4 separate regions of the Homo sapiens genome follow, and all the other regions are linked to region 3. The links are contacts of gene promoters, found by promoter capture Hi-C in human tissues and cell types (Jung and others, 2019). All regions are on one chromosome and are shown on one strand. Each heading gives the region's core, a stretch centred on a gene start or on the middle of the fragment in contact. The rest is flanking DNA. Distances are from core to core; before and after follow the strand shown.

What was found. The method cuts DNA at HindIII sites, captures the fragments that hold promoters and counts their contacts. A contact is called where the count stands out against the background at its distance.
Region 1: a contact is called between a fragment that was not itself captured here and the fragment with the promoter of CORO7 in region 3, in 2 of the 25 tissues and cell types used here (dorsolateral prefrontal cortex and spleen).
Region 2: a fragment that was not itself captured here is called in contact with the fragment with the promoter of CORO7 in region 3 in 1 of the 25 tissues and cell types used here (dorsolateral prefrontal cortex).
Region 4: a fragment that was not itself captured here is called in contact with the fragment with the promoter of CORO7 in region 3 in 1 of the 25 tissues and cell types used here (dorsolateral prefrontal cortex).

Annotation. Positions count from the first base shown.
Region 1 is chr16:3,873,238-3,876,481 of GRCh38, forward strand. The region is part of intron 1 of CREBBP (CREB binding lysine acetyltransferase); the gene reads right to left. Among named protein-coding and RNA genes, the nearest start is that of CREBBP, 5.9 kb to the right of the region's middle. The HindIII fragment of the contact is 5,503 bases long and covers 1-3,244 here.
Region 2 is chr16:3,604,784-3,607,881 of GRCh38, forward strand. It overlaps SLX4 (SLX4 structure-specific endonuclease subunit), which reads right to left. Exons shown (of 15, transcript NM_032444.4): 3 at 1,691-1,915. Among named protein-coding and RNA genes, the nearest start is that of SLX4, 5.3 kb to the right of the region's middle. The HindIII fragment of the contact is 4,547 bases long and covers 1-3,098 here.
Region 3 is chr16:4,414,593-4,418,086 of GRCh38, forward strand. CORO7 (coronin 7) reads right to left here and starts at 2,004. Exons shown (of 28, transcript NM_024535.5): 1 at 1,867-2,004. The coding sequence starts at 1,926. CORO7-PAM16 (CORO7-PAM16 readthrough) reads right to left here and starts at 2,004. Exons shown (of 31, transcript NM_001201479.2): 1 at 1,867-2,004. The coding sequence starts at 1,926. LOC124903635 (a long non-coding RNA gene) reads right to left here. Exons shown (of 3, transcript XR_007064963.1): 3 at 2,133-2,369. The HindIII fragment of the contact is 38,450 bases long and covers 1-3,494 here.
Region 4 is chr16:3,688,937-3,692,197 of GRCh38, forward strand. It overlaps TRAP1 (TNF receptor associated protein 1), which reads right to left. Exons shown (of 18, transcript NM_016292.3): 2 at 1,891-2,049; 3 at 119-201. Among named protein-coding and RNA genes, the nearest start is that of TRAP1, 27 kb to the right of the region's middle. The HindIII fragment of the contact is 7,881 bases long and covers 1-3,261 here.

The DNA of each region.
Region 1 (3,244 bases), core at 259-2,758, 540 kb before region 3:
TTCAGTGTACATCCTGATTTGATTTAAAAGAAAAAATAATTCAGAACACACACCATTTAAGTTTTCGTAATTTTAAGCTTTCATGGCCATCACGTTCCTATTTTTAAAAATACAATAAAAAATGGAGACAGAGTCAATGGTATAGATGACAGAATTCCCGGCTATGTATCTGCTGAGGTGCTACACTATCACACGCGTGCCTGCACACTGGTTTCTGTGGATACGAGCACACATGGCTTCTGTCCTTTCCAGAACTGCTGAGAAACAGGTCTTGCTCCAATCAGACTAGCACTCCCAGTAAGTCCTAGGACTTACAAGGTACGACAACGTCCCTGGTTAACGCTAGTGTCAGTTCCCATTGGGCGGATATGCCAGACACACATCATCTCAGGCTACCCTCATAACCACCCTGAGATGGGAATTGTTATTATCTCCATGTTACAGATGAGGAAACTCTGAGCTCAGAGAGCTGATGTAACTTGCCCCAAACATGCTCTGGCCTCAGCACTCCTAAGGCCAGCTGGTTTGGTGGCCGGGTGGGAGCCCATGGGTACGGAACTCGGAAGCAAATAACAGACCCAATTAGAAGATAGGTGGCAATCTGCTTGAAAGTAAAACCTTAACAAGAAAATGATAAGAACTTTAAGGGACAAATACTATATAATTCTTTCACTAATTCCCTCAAATATTTCCTGAGGGCCTACTATGTGTCAGGCACTGCCCCTGGGGAGGGAAGTGCTGGGAAGAGGGCCGTGGAAAGGCTCTGGAGTTCTTACTGACGCTCACCTTCTGGTGTCACAGGAAGGGGAGCAAGCCTAGAGCCTGAGATGACAAAGACGGACGAGAAATGCCATGTGGGCCACTGGGGTCAACAAAAAGCAAAAGAACAAAGAAAAATGCAACCGGTCACCAGGCTTTCTGATAAATTCGTCTGATTTTAAATCAAGTCATCCATATAACTGTTACAGAGGAACAAAAAAGACAGAGAGAGAGGGCCCTGCTAAGCTCTGAAGTGCTCCAAGACAGGAGACCCAAGCTAGCCTGCTGCTCACCTGGGCTCTCCCGGGCTCCACATCATGCAGCTCAGAAAACTTGCCCTGCTGCTGTTTTCCTTAAAGCTGTCTGTGCAGCCGTGGTAGGCCAGTGCTCCCCAACGGGTGCTCAGAGAATGAAGTCCCACGTTATATCAGTCACCAAATTGCAGCCCATGGGCGAAGTCCTCAGATGCCAGTCTTTACAACTAGAGTTTTACTGGAACACAGCCAGGCCCACTCGCCTATGGCTACTTTCTTGCTGAAATGGCAGCCTTGAGTAGTTGCAACAAGAGACCATATGGCTCAGAAAGCCAAATGCGTGCTCTCTGGCCCTTTGCAGAGGAAGTCTGCGGACCCATAATAGGCTAAAAAGAGTTCTAGCGTCAAACAGGATTGAGAGTGGTCCAACTGTAGCCCCTCTCTCACAGTGCCCAATCAGGACACCAAGGCTCTGGGAAAGTCTGCAGTCAAATTCCTCAGCTACAAGCAACAGCATCTGAGCACAAACCATTTGTTGAGAAATACCTCTTAGCATGCCCTCTAGTTTCTTGGAATACATGTGAAGAGCTGGTTTGAGTAAGGTAAAGAGGGGTGCCCTCACTAATGGGACCCCAAAAACTAAACTGACAAGCTTTTGCAATCTTCAGAAACTCACAATAAGGTACATTTCATCTTAACTAAGGTAAGACACACTTTGGCAAAATCATTTTCCTAACTGTTTTCAAATACATCAAGTAAAAACACAAGTCAGCAATTATGGACCCCCCAGGTAATCACATACTTTGCCACACAATTACAACACACTACTTAGAAGCTGTGAAAACACAGGCGACTAATCTAAGCATCAACTTCCAACTGCAGGACTCAGTCTCTTTGTAAGTTATGTTCAATTCTGTTTACAGAATCAAATCTGAATGTTCAGCCAGGAGCGACTTTCCATCTTCTGAAGGCCCTCTAAGGCGCCCTGCACATGACTTGTCCTTGCCTACCTTCATCCCTGACGACCTTTGAATGGGGCCACCGCTCTCACCCCTCTCAGTTATTCAAAAACGAAGCACGGTCATGAAATGTCCTAGTCCTAAAAGTCTCTATGACAACTTTTATTCCTACTTAGCCAGAACTCACTGATGGGGTAACATAACCGTTTCTCATTCTCCCTGAGGTAAACAGGAACACGAGCCCACACACGTCACGCTGAGGATAACACCAGAACCAGAGGGAAAAGGGGGACGCCCTAACCCAGGAGGAAGAATACACTCCTGGCTGCCCCCACCACAGGTGGTTACAAACCTCCCCCTTAGTGATCTCATTCATGTGCGGGAAGGCCGCTACTGAAACTCACTAAGCTTGGCAGGTTCCTGGGTCGATTCAAGTAAATGCATTGTTTACAGATAGAGACTTAGAAAATAAATATATAGAGCTACGGACTTTAACAATCTAGTTTGGATCTGGTTTTGACCCTGTATCACCTCTCAAGTCCAGTTCCTCACCTAGAAAATAGCAGTAACAGCATCTTCCCTTCCTCACAGGACGCTGTAAGGATCAAACTGAGGTGACGTGGAGAAAAGCACTCTGATACATAAAGTACCAGACATACATAACAGACCATTTGGTTGACAACCATATTCGCCACCAGCTTTCTTTAAATAAGCTTCCCTATTGCATTTAAAAGGATTCACGTCATAAAATGTAATCACAACTGCTTAGAGCCACTTATACAGCACAGGATGAAACACAGCTATGTTCAATCTTCAGAATGTAGTTTTTCTTTTCCTTTTTCCCCCAGAGACAGGGTCTCACTCTGTCACCCAGGCCAGAGTGCAGTGGCATGATCACAGCTCACTGCAGCCTCGACCTCCTGGGCTCAAGCGATCCTCCTGCCACAGCCTCCTGAATAGCTGGGATTACAGGATTGTACTATTACACCCAACTAATTAAAAAAATTTTTTGTTTAGATGGGGTCTCACTATGTTGTCCAGGCTGGTCTCCAACTGCTGGCCTCAAGCAATCCTCCTGTCTCAGTCTCCCTAAGCACTGGGATTATAGGCATGAGCCACCACCCTGGCCTGCAATTTCAAAAAACTTTATAAACAGTCTGTTGTGTGCAAATTTTGCAATAAAGCTGACCAAAAAAAAAAAAAAAAAAAAAAAAAAACAACCCAGAAAACAAAAAACAAAAGTCTACTGCTTGCCTGGATATTTGTCTTATA
Region 2 (3,098 bases), core at 326-2,825, 810 kb before region 3:
CACCCCAACCTGGGAGACAGACCAAGACTCCATCTCAAAAAAAAAAAAAAATGTATATTTATAAAGACATAAACAAATGGCCAAATGTTAACATTTGTTAAATCTAGATTGAGGTATAGGGGATTAGGGGATTCATTGTAATTTTTTTTTTTTTTTTTTTGAGACAGGGTCTCACTCTGTTGCCCTGGAGTGCAATGATGCAATCACAGCTCACTGCAGCTCAACGTCCTGGGCTCAAGCAATCCTCCCACCTCAGCCTCCCGAGTAGCTGGGACTACAGTTGTGCACCATCATGCCCAGCTAATTAAAAAAAAATTTTTTTTTGAGTCAGAGTCTTGCTCTGTTGCCCAGGCTGGAGTGCAGTGGTGCAATCTCGGCTCACTGCAAGCTCTGTCTCCCAGGTTCACGCCATTCTCCTGCCTCAGCCTCCCGAGTAGCTGGGACTACAGGCACCCACCACCATACCTTGCTAATTTTTTGTATTTTTCATAGAGATGGGGTTTCACTGTGTTAGCCAGGATGGTCTCAATCTCCTGACCTTGTGATCTGCGCACCTCGGCCTCCCAAAGTGCTGGCATTACAGGCGTGAGCCACCACGCCTGGCCCCTAAAATTTTTTTGTAGAGATGGGGGTCTCACTATGTTGTCCAGGCTGGTCTCGAACTTGTGACCTCAAGTAGTCCTCCTGCCTTGGCCTCCCAAAGTTTTGGGATTATAGGCATGAGCCATCATGCCTGGCTTCATTGTAATTAAAACAACAACAACAAAAAAACCTTTTCTGAAAGGAAGAGTTCTTTGTGAATACTGAGGGTTATCTTTTTAAAAGGAAAAAACTGAAAGGGAAAGCTTTCATAATAAAAAGTCATAATTTTTAAAAAAAGGAGGCCAGGCACAGTGGCTCACGCCTGTAATCCCAGCACTTTGGGAGGCCAAGGCGGGTGGATCACGAGGTCAGGAGATCGAGACCATCCTGGCTAACAAGGTGAAACCTTGTCTCTACTAAAAATACAAAAAATTAGCCAGGCGTGGTGGTGGGAGCCTGTAGTCCCAGCTACTCGGGAGGCTGAGGCAGGAGAATGGCGTGAACCTGGGAGGTGGAGCTTGCAGTGAGCTAATATCGTGCCACTGCACTCCAGCCTGGGTGACGGAGCGAGACTCCATCTCAAAAAAAAAAAAAAAAAAAAAAAAGGAAGAGGGCCAGGTGCAATGGTTCACGCCTGTAATCCCAGCACTTTGGGGAGCTGAGGTAGGCAGATCACTTGAGGTCAGGAGTTCGAGACCAGCCTGGCCAACTTGGCGAAACCCTGTCTCTACTAAAAATACAAAAATTGGCCAGGTGTGGTGGCACACGTCTGTAATCCCACTGGCTGGGGCAAGATAATTGCTTGAACCTGGGAGGCGGAGGTTGCAGTGAGCTGAGATCATGTCACTGCACTCCAGCCTGGGTGACAGAGCAAGGCTCTGTCTCAGAAAAAAAAACAAAACGGTACCTTATCAAGGAAGCTAGGTGGGAAATGATCCCAGAGACTCTTCATTCTCTGGCTGGATCCAGTGAAGTGGCAAAGGTAAAACATCAAGCAGAGAGCCTATCCACAGAAGAAACTCAACAAATGCTGATTCCTTCCCGCCTCCCTTCCTCAGAGTTGTATTAACTTATCTCTGTGTGGAAGACAGAAACACACTCATCATACCATTCCCCGCCATCATCTCCTCTTGAGGATCCTTTGGGACATTTTCTTCCCGCGCAGCCTCGAGGGAGCACTCTTCTGAAGCGTGTCTCAAACGCTCGGGGTCTGCTCTCTTGAACTGCTGCATTCGCTGTAGGACCAATTGTGCTGTGCGGGGTTTGGAGGGACTTGGCACTGCTGTTGTCAAACAGGAAGGAGGAGGCTGGGAGTCGCTGTTGGGCACATTCTCTGGCAAGGAGGAAAATATTCACAACCATCTGTTGTAGCTGGAGAAATAAAAGACTTTTCTACCAGATACAGGTTAGACGCAAGTTTCAAGAGTCCTTTATCAACTAGTTTAGGTTTGACTCACAAATGTGAAGAGGACTGGTTGCTTGTTGGTAACCTCTTTGTTTATGGCAATATAGACATAAATATCAATAACAGGAGGGGAATGGGATGTGACTGCTAATGAGCATGGGGTTTATTTTTAGGATGATAAAACTGTTCTAACGTTAGGTAGTGGTGGTGGTTGGACAAGTCTGTGAATATACTAAAAACCACTGAACCATACCCTTTTAAATGGTGAATTTTATGGAATATCAATTATACCCCAATAAAGCTATTATTAAAGAAATATTAATGACAAAGGTTTATGTCCTAGATCAGTTCTTCTTTAACTTGGGATCCACGGATGATCTTCAGTGGGGATCCATGAACCCCATGAAGTTGTGTGCCAGTTTTGCAGATACGCGCATGGATACGTGTTTTGGGGGAACCATGCATAGATTTCATCCGACTGGCAAAGAGCACGAGAGACCAGTAAAGTTGGTGAGGCAACACTGCTGATGCCTTCCAGTAGTCTATGCGACCTGAGACTCTACCACCACTCTACTGAGAGGTTATTAAGATCAGGAAGTGAGGGCAAAGGAAATTTAGAAACAGAACTCAGGAGCTCAGAGAGCCCATGGTGTATTATATATGCAAGGGTAGTTTTCAGTTTTGCATGAAGAATGTGTAGTAAGCATATAGCTCAGTATACCAAGGGCAGCAGGGCAAGAAAACTGCTTTAAACAGTTAAAAAATTATCCAGGCACGGTGGTGGGTGCCTGTGGTCCCAGCTACTCGGGAGGCTGAGGCAGGGAGGACTGCTTGAACCTGGGAGGTCAAGGCTGCAGTAAGCTATGATAGCACCACTGCACTCCAGCCTGGGTGAGAGACCAAGATCCTGTCTCTAAAAACTAAGTAAGTAAATAAATCAATAACAATAACAAAGGAAAAGATTAAAAGGTCTTCAGAGAGAGAAAGAAAGAACCTGAAGATTCTCCTGGGACTTGAGCCCACACAGAGTCCTCATGCGGCCCTCTCAGCAGCCTATCCAAATTGGCTGGCCCAGTCCAACTTACCCACTTTGGAATAAATTCAAGAAAAC
Region 3 (3,494 bases), core at 754-3,253:
GTTTACTGTATAAACACAGTGACTGCAAATATCTCTGAAAAGAACAGATCACCTGTTCTCCCGCCTCCCTAACATAAACTGTTTTAAGCTCTCCCTACAGTCTGTAGTTCCATGCCTATCTGTTTATGTTGCTGGACTAAGGCCCACCCAGGAGCAAGAATTAGGGCCCCTCAAGTATTCTCCAGACCCCTCCAAGCAGTACTTAACTGCACTCAGAGCCACCGGCTGTCTTGATGCAAACCTAGGTACCTCCTCCTAACTTTTCTTGTTTGTTTTTTTCTTTTTTTGAGACAGTGTCTCACTCTATTGCCCAGGCTGGTGTGTAGTGGCACAATCTCGGCTCACTGCAACCTCCACTTCCTCGGCTCAAGAGATCCTCCAACCTCAGCCTCCCAAGTAGCTGGGACCACGGGAGTGAGTCACCACACCTGGCTAATTTTTTTTTCTTTAACTTGTTGTTCAGAGGGGTTTCGCAATGTTGCCCAGGCTGGTCTCGAACTCCTGAGCTCAAAGCAGTCCACCCAAAGTACTGGGATTACCGTGAGTCATGGTATCCAGCCCCTCCCCCTAACTTTTCAATGGCTCTGCACTGCAATCAGAATAAAACCCAACTTCTTCCGGTGGCCCTTGGGTTCTGCAGGACCACTCTGGACTCATCTGTCACCATACTGCTCCGGCCATCCCCTCCATCCACTCATGCTCACTTTCCATTTCTCCACCAGGCTCTTTCTCAATTCTCACCCTTCTGGCCTCAGCTAAAATGCCATCTACTCCAGGCAGCCTTTCCTGACCACGCTACTGAGACTGGCCCCCTCCATTCTCCATCCCAGTCCCTCATGTGTGTTCTTCAATGTCGTTATGAAAACCTCCAATGCTCTTGTTTGTCTGCTTGCTGTCTCCCTCATGAGGCTACAAGTGCCACAGGGGAAGGAAAATGCCGTTGTGTTCACCGGGATGTCTCCAGCAGCTTAGCACAGCATAAAGTGGAAGCAGAGGAAATATAGTCCACACTACAAAAACGGAACCTCTACCCAGACTGCCCTGACTTGCTCTGGGACCCTGATGGGGTCACTTGAGGTCAACTCCTAGGCCCAGTTATCGGAGGACACTCCCAGGCCTTACAAATAACACGGAAAGCGGAAGAGCAGAGCTGACATCGTTTCCAAGGCGCACCCCTCATCAGTCCTCCTGCCGTTTCGGGGGTCCGAAGGGTCTCCCGGCACCTGGCTCAGCAATTCTTTGGGGCTCCACCTGCTCAGGCTTCCCCAGGCCCCACCCAGCCGTGGCAGCATCACCGAGATAAAGAAAGAGCTTGCGCCAGCGGCGAGAGGAGGAAGCACCGGCGGAAACCCGAGGGAGGGGCGCGTGCGGCCGAGGGGCTCCCTCCCCACCACTGACACACTTGGGCTCGCCGGGGCCAGAGGAGAGAGGGGCGTCTCCCCACAGCCCAGCCAGGGGCAGGGGCGACCCGGGGCGGCAGGGAGGAGGAGCCAGGCGCCGGCAGCGCCCCGAGCCCCGGCTCCCGGCGAGGCCGACCGGAAGCTGGGAAGGCAGGCGGCCTCGCAGGCCTGGGCCCCGGCTAGGAGGGCTGCGCCGCCTCGGGGGTCCCGGGGCGAGGTGGGCGAGGCGGGCAGACCGCCAGGGTCACCGAGCGCCAGAGCGAGTCACGGGAGTGCCGGACTCTGCCCTCCGGCGGCGACGAAACGGCCCGGACGCCGGGGCCCTGGCCTGAAGGGGGGTTCCCCGGGGATGGAGGTCTCGGGGTTCCAGACGGCCCTGGAGGGCACCCCTGTGGGGTCCGGGCAGGGGGAGGGGCAGCCGGACGGGGCCCGAGGCGACAGCGCCCGGTCCTCGGGCCGGACTCACCTCGCGGCGGGGCGGCCGAGCCTCGGTGTGCCGGAACTTGGACACCCTGAAGCGGTTCATGGCGACGGGCACGGCGGCGGACGCGTCTTCGAGGACCCCGGGCGTCGGGTCTCAGGTGCACGCTGAGCAACCGCGACTCCCGCTGCCTCGGCCCCACCCGGGACCCAATGCCGCGGTCACGCCCCCGGCGCGCCCCACTGCCAATCGCAGCCGTCTCCGGCCCCCTGGGCCACGCCCCCAAGCCCCTCTCCTTTCGCGCGCGCACCACCGGTCCCGCCTCCCGGCCAATCCAGGTACGGCCGCCCCGCGAGGCCACGCCCTGATACCGAGGGGACGGACTGGCGCGGGTGGGAGGTCACGTGGGGCGCAGCTGTCAGCCCACGTCTCCTGCGGTGCTTGCTTGCGTGGGGTCTCGGCTGCAGCATTCGCGATTTTGTGTGCAGGATTTGCTGTGGAGTCTTTGCGGTGTACCTAGCACGCCTTCCAGCACTATCTACCTCTTCCTGTAGAGAGGGGAGAAATTAGCTCCATTTCAGAGACAGGAAACCCCCGGCTAAAGGAGAGTGTAAACTGTCGGTCCCCAGGTCACACCAGTGGTAAGAGGCAGAGGGGGAACAGGGGCCCAGGTCTAAAGCAAATCCCTGTCCACCGGGCCTACTCAAAAGCCTCTGCATCCGGCCAGGCGCTCTGCATCCGGCCAGGCGCGGTGGCTCAGGTCTGTAATCCCGAACTTTGGGAGACTGAGGCAGGAGTATCCCTTGAGCCCAAGAGGTCGAGGCTGCAGTTATCTGTGACCGTGCCACTGCACTCCAGCCTGGGAGACAGAAAGAGACCCTGCCTCTAAAAATAATAATAATAATAGCTTTTAATTTTTCTTTAGTATTTATTCATTTATTTGACACGGAGTCCCTGTCACCCAGGCTGGAGTGCAGTGGCGCGATCTCAGCTCACTGCACCCTCTGCCTCGCGGGTTCAAGCAATTCTCTTGCCTCAGCCTCCCGAATAGCTGGGATTACAGGCGCCTGCCACCGCGCCCAACTAATTTTTTATTTTTAGTAAGAGACGGGGTTTCACCATGATGGTCAGGCTGGTCTCGAACGAGACTCAAGCAGTCCTCCCAACTTGGCCTGCCAAAGTGTGGGGATTATAGGAATGAGCCAACGCACCCAGCTGATTCTTGCATTTCTAAGGTTTGAAAAGCAATGCTTACATTTTATCTTAGTTCGGGCAGAAGTGTATTTACTGTGAACCAAAGTCACTTGTGGTTTATTGAAAAGGCTTTTTGTTTGTTTGTTTTGAGACAGAGTCTCACTCTGTTGCCCAGGCTGGAGTGCAGTGGTGTCATCTCAGCTCACTGCAACCTCCACCTCCTGAGTTCAAGCGATTCTCCTGCTTCAGCCTCCCAAGCAGCTGGGATTACAGGTGTGCGCCACTACTCCTAATTTTTGTATTTTTAGTAGAGATGGGATTTTGCCATGTTGGCCAGGCTGGTCTCAAACTCCTGACCTCAAGTGATCCACCTGCCTCAGCCTCCCAAAGTGCTGGGATTAGAGGCATAAGCCACTGCGCCCAGTCCAAAAAGGTTTTTAGAAAATCATCAGGTTGGCCGGGCGCGGTAGCTCACGCCT
Region 4 (3,261 bases), core at 525-3,024, 730 kb before region 3:
AAAGTTTAATGCTTTCTCACAGCTAATATATTATCTGGCAATTCTCCAGAATGGCATAAAAACCAGCTTTGTGAAAAGAAACTTTGCTAGCATCGGGCATGGTTAGCAGGGAACGCACCTCTTTTTCTGAGTACAGGGACCGGGCAACAATGTCCAAAAGCTTCTTTGTCTCGGCCTGGAACTCATGTTTGGAAGTGGAACCTAGTAATGAAACACAGACACAACCAACAAAGTTTAACTTCTATTTTTGTGCAAGAATACGCTACGTCACATTCCAAAGAAAGCTTAAGTTTATGAGTTTTAAACTTTTTTTTTTTTTTTTTTTTGAGACGGAGTCTCGCTCTGTCACCCAGGCTGGAGTACAGTGGCACGATCTCGGCTCACTGCAAGCTCTGCCTCCCGGGTTCACGCCATTCTCTTGCCTCAGCCTCCCGAGTAGCTGGGACTACAGGTGCCTGCCACCACGCCCGGCTAATTTTTTGTAGTTTTAGTAGAGACGGGGTTTTACCATGTTAGCCAGGATAGCCTCGATCTCCTGACCTCATGATTGGCCCGCCTCGGCCTCCCACACATTTAAGATCATGAACAAAAAGAAAGAAGCAGACAGAAACAAAGTCTGGCTGGGCACCATGGCTCATGCCTGTAATCCCAGCACTTTGGGAGGCCAAGGCAGGAGAATCACTTAAGCCCAGGAGCTCAAGACCAGCCTGGGCAACACAGAGGGATCCCGCCATCTCTACAAAAAATACACAAAGTAGCTGACGGTGGTGGCACACACTTGTGGTCCCAGTGACTCAGGGGGCTGAGGTGGGAGGATCACTTGAGCCAGGGAGGTCGAGGCTTCAGTGAGCCATGATTGCACTACAGCACTCGGCCTGGGTGACAGAGAAAGACCCTGTCTCAAAACAAAACAAAACAAAAAGTCTCTCAGAAAGGAGGTCTCAGGGCAGGACAAATCCTCCCACTGCTGAGGCCAGACATGCCTCGGGCTATGTCGAGGGAATGCTGAGCCTGGTTTCCCAATGTGCATGGTTACGAGAACTGGACTGCCTCTAAGAACCAGATTATATGTTCTTTCTTTTTTTTTTAGAGGCAGGATCTGGCTCTGTTGCCCAGGCTGCTATGCAGTGGCAGGATCGTGCTCACTGCAGCCTCAACTTCCTGGGCTCAACCGATTCTCCTGCCTCAGCCTCTCAAGTACCTGGAACCACTGGTGTGTGCTACCATGCCTGGCTAACTTTTTAATTTTTTTCTGTAGAGAAAGGGTCTATCTTGCCCAGGTTGGTCTCGACCACTTGGCCTCAAGCAATCCTCCTGCCTCGGCCTCCCAAAGTGCTGGGATTACAAGTGTGAGCCACTGTGCCTGGACTATATTCTTCAAAAAAGCGGTTTCCAAATTAATTAGTTAGAAATCAAAATAACAAGAAAACCTCACTTCTCTTTTTAACTTCAAAGATTCTACTCTTGTCGACCCACTTAAAAGCCAGAAATGGAGCCACTTCAGGACTGGCTCCAAAGACTGCTTTTTTATACTTCAGAGGGAATGAAAAGACAGCTCCAGAATTCGGTCCTGCGCAGACTGGGCCAATGCTGAGTTTCCCCTCCCGCTTCCATGATTATTAGCAGATGTGCCATGAATCACCACTCAGGGGAGGTGCCGGACGGCAAACTCACGGGTGGCCACCAGAGGGGGCAAGACACACCCGACACTGGCAGAAGTCCCTCGCTGGGACAGAAATGGAGGGCGCAGCACTCCCTACAGCCAAGACCTTCTGATTTCACACCTAAGGCGGTGGCTCTACCAATCACTGCCTCCACCCTGAAAATGCCCCTTTACGCACAGCAGTGAACCAAAAAGCCCTCCCAGACCAAAGCACGAGCCAAGGCTACCCTGCACGCTCTCTGTGCTGCTGATAATCGAGTGCAGGGGTTCCTCCTTGTCCTCGGCGGTCTGCGTGCTGAACAGTCGTCCTGCCTGCAAGCTCCAGGCTGGGTTTCGCCTGGGGCCCAACTGGGCTGTGGTCCTCCGAGGACACAGAATTGGTTTTCCTGAAAAGACAAATATGCAGAAAGAATGAGAATTAGGAAGACACGAGAAACAATATGGTAATTCGTCCCATCAAGGGTGTCTAGCAGAAGCTAGCGTGGACATCTCTAAGTCGGGCTGTTGCTGAAAGAGAAATCCACAGGACCAAATGCCACAGTGTCAGGGTGTGGTTTTGGCAAGGAGCCCTCACAGATGTCATCAGTGTAAGATACTGTGTCTTCTCAGAACCGCAGAAGCGAAACTGGAGGGGGTGGGCTGCTGCCTTCTTTTCAGAGGGGGTCTCGCTCTGTCACTGCGATCACAGCTCACTGCAGCCCCAACCTCCTGGACTCAGGCAATGCTCCTGCCTCCGCCTCACGAGTAGCTGGGACCACAGGCACAGACCACCATGCCCCCATAATTTTTTAAAAAATTTTTTGTAGAAATGGGGTTTTGCTATGTTGCCAAGACTGGTCTCGAACTCCTGGGCTGAAACCATCTTCCCGCCTTGGCCTTACAAAGAGCTGGGATGACAGGCGTGAGCCACCATGCCCAGCTGGCAGATGCCTGCTGACAGCACTTCCCACATTCGCCTCACGGGTGACACCTCGCATCAACCTACCAAACTGAAACCTGTCTCGACCCTCGCAGCCCCTGCAGAAGCCCCCGATGGGCCACACTTCTTTGCTCTTGACAGTCAAGCAAAAAAAAAATCCTCCCAAAAGGGATCCAAATATTTAAATGTTAATATTCTGAAACTGTCTCATCTTCTAAAAGTTGATTCTTTCCCATTGCTTTTTCATCCAAAACAGATTTTTTAAAAAAAATTTGTGTACTTTAAAAACTGAAAAACAGCTGACGATGGGTTCTACCTTCTAACTAAGAAGGAGACTTGTCTTCTGTAACTTCCTGCTCAGTCCAGTGGGCTGAGAAAGTTGCCGGCAGAGCCCAGCGAGGGAGGAAAGCAGCCAATGTGTCCCCAGCCGCACGCAGTTCACCGACGCAGGCCCAGAAACCAGACACTTTCACTCCAACACAGGACTGGACCGACCCAACACCAACACCCACTGACCCCAGGGACCACATACCAGGACCCTGCCTTGGTCAGTAGATTTGCAATACGTGATGGTGTCAAGGATATGTGGCCAGCCAGCCACGCCGTGTCAAAGTCTAAGCCTAAATGAACCGCATCTAACTGGGAGCCTCTCCTGTTCTTCACAAATTTGTAACAAGTA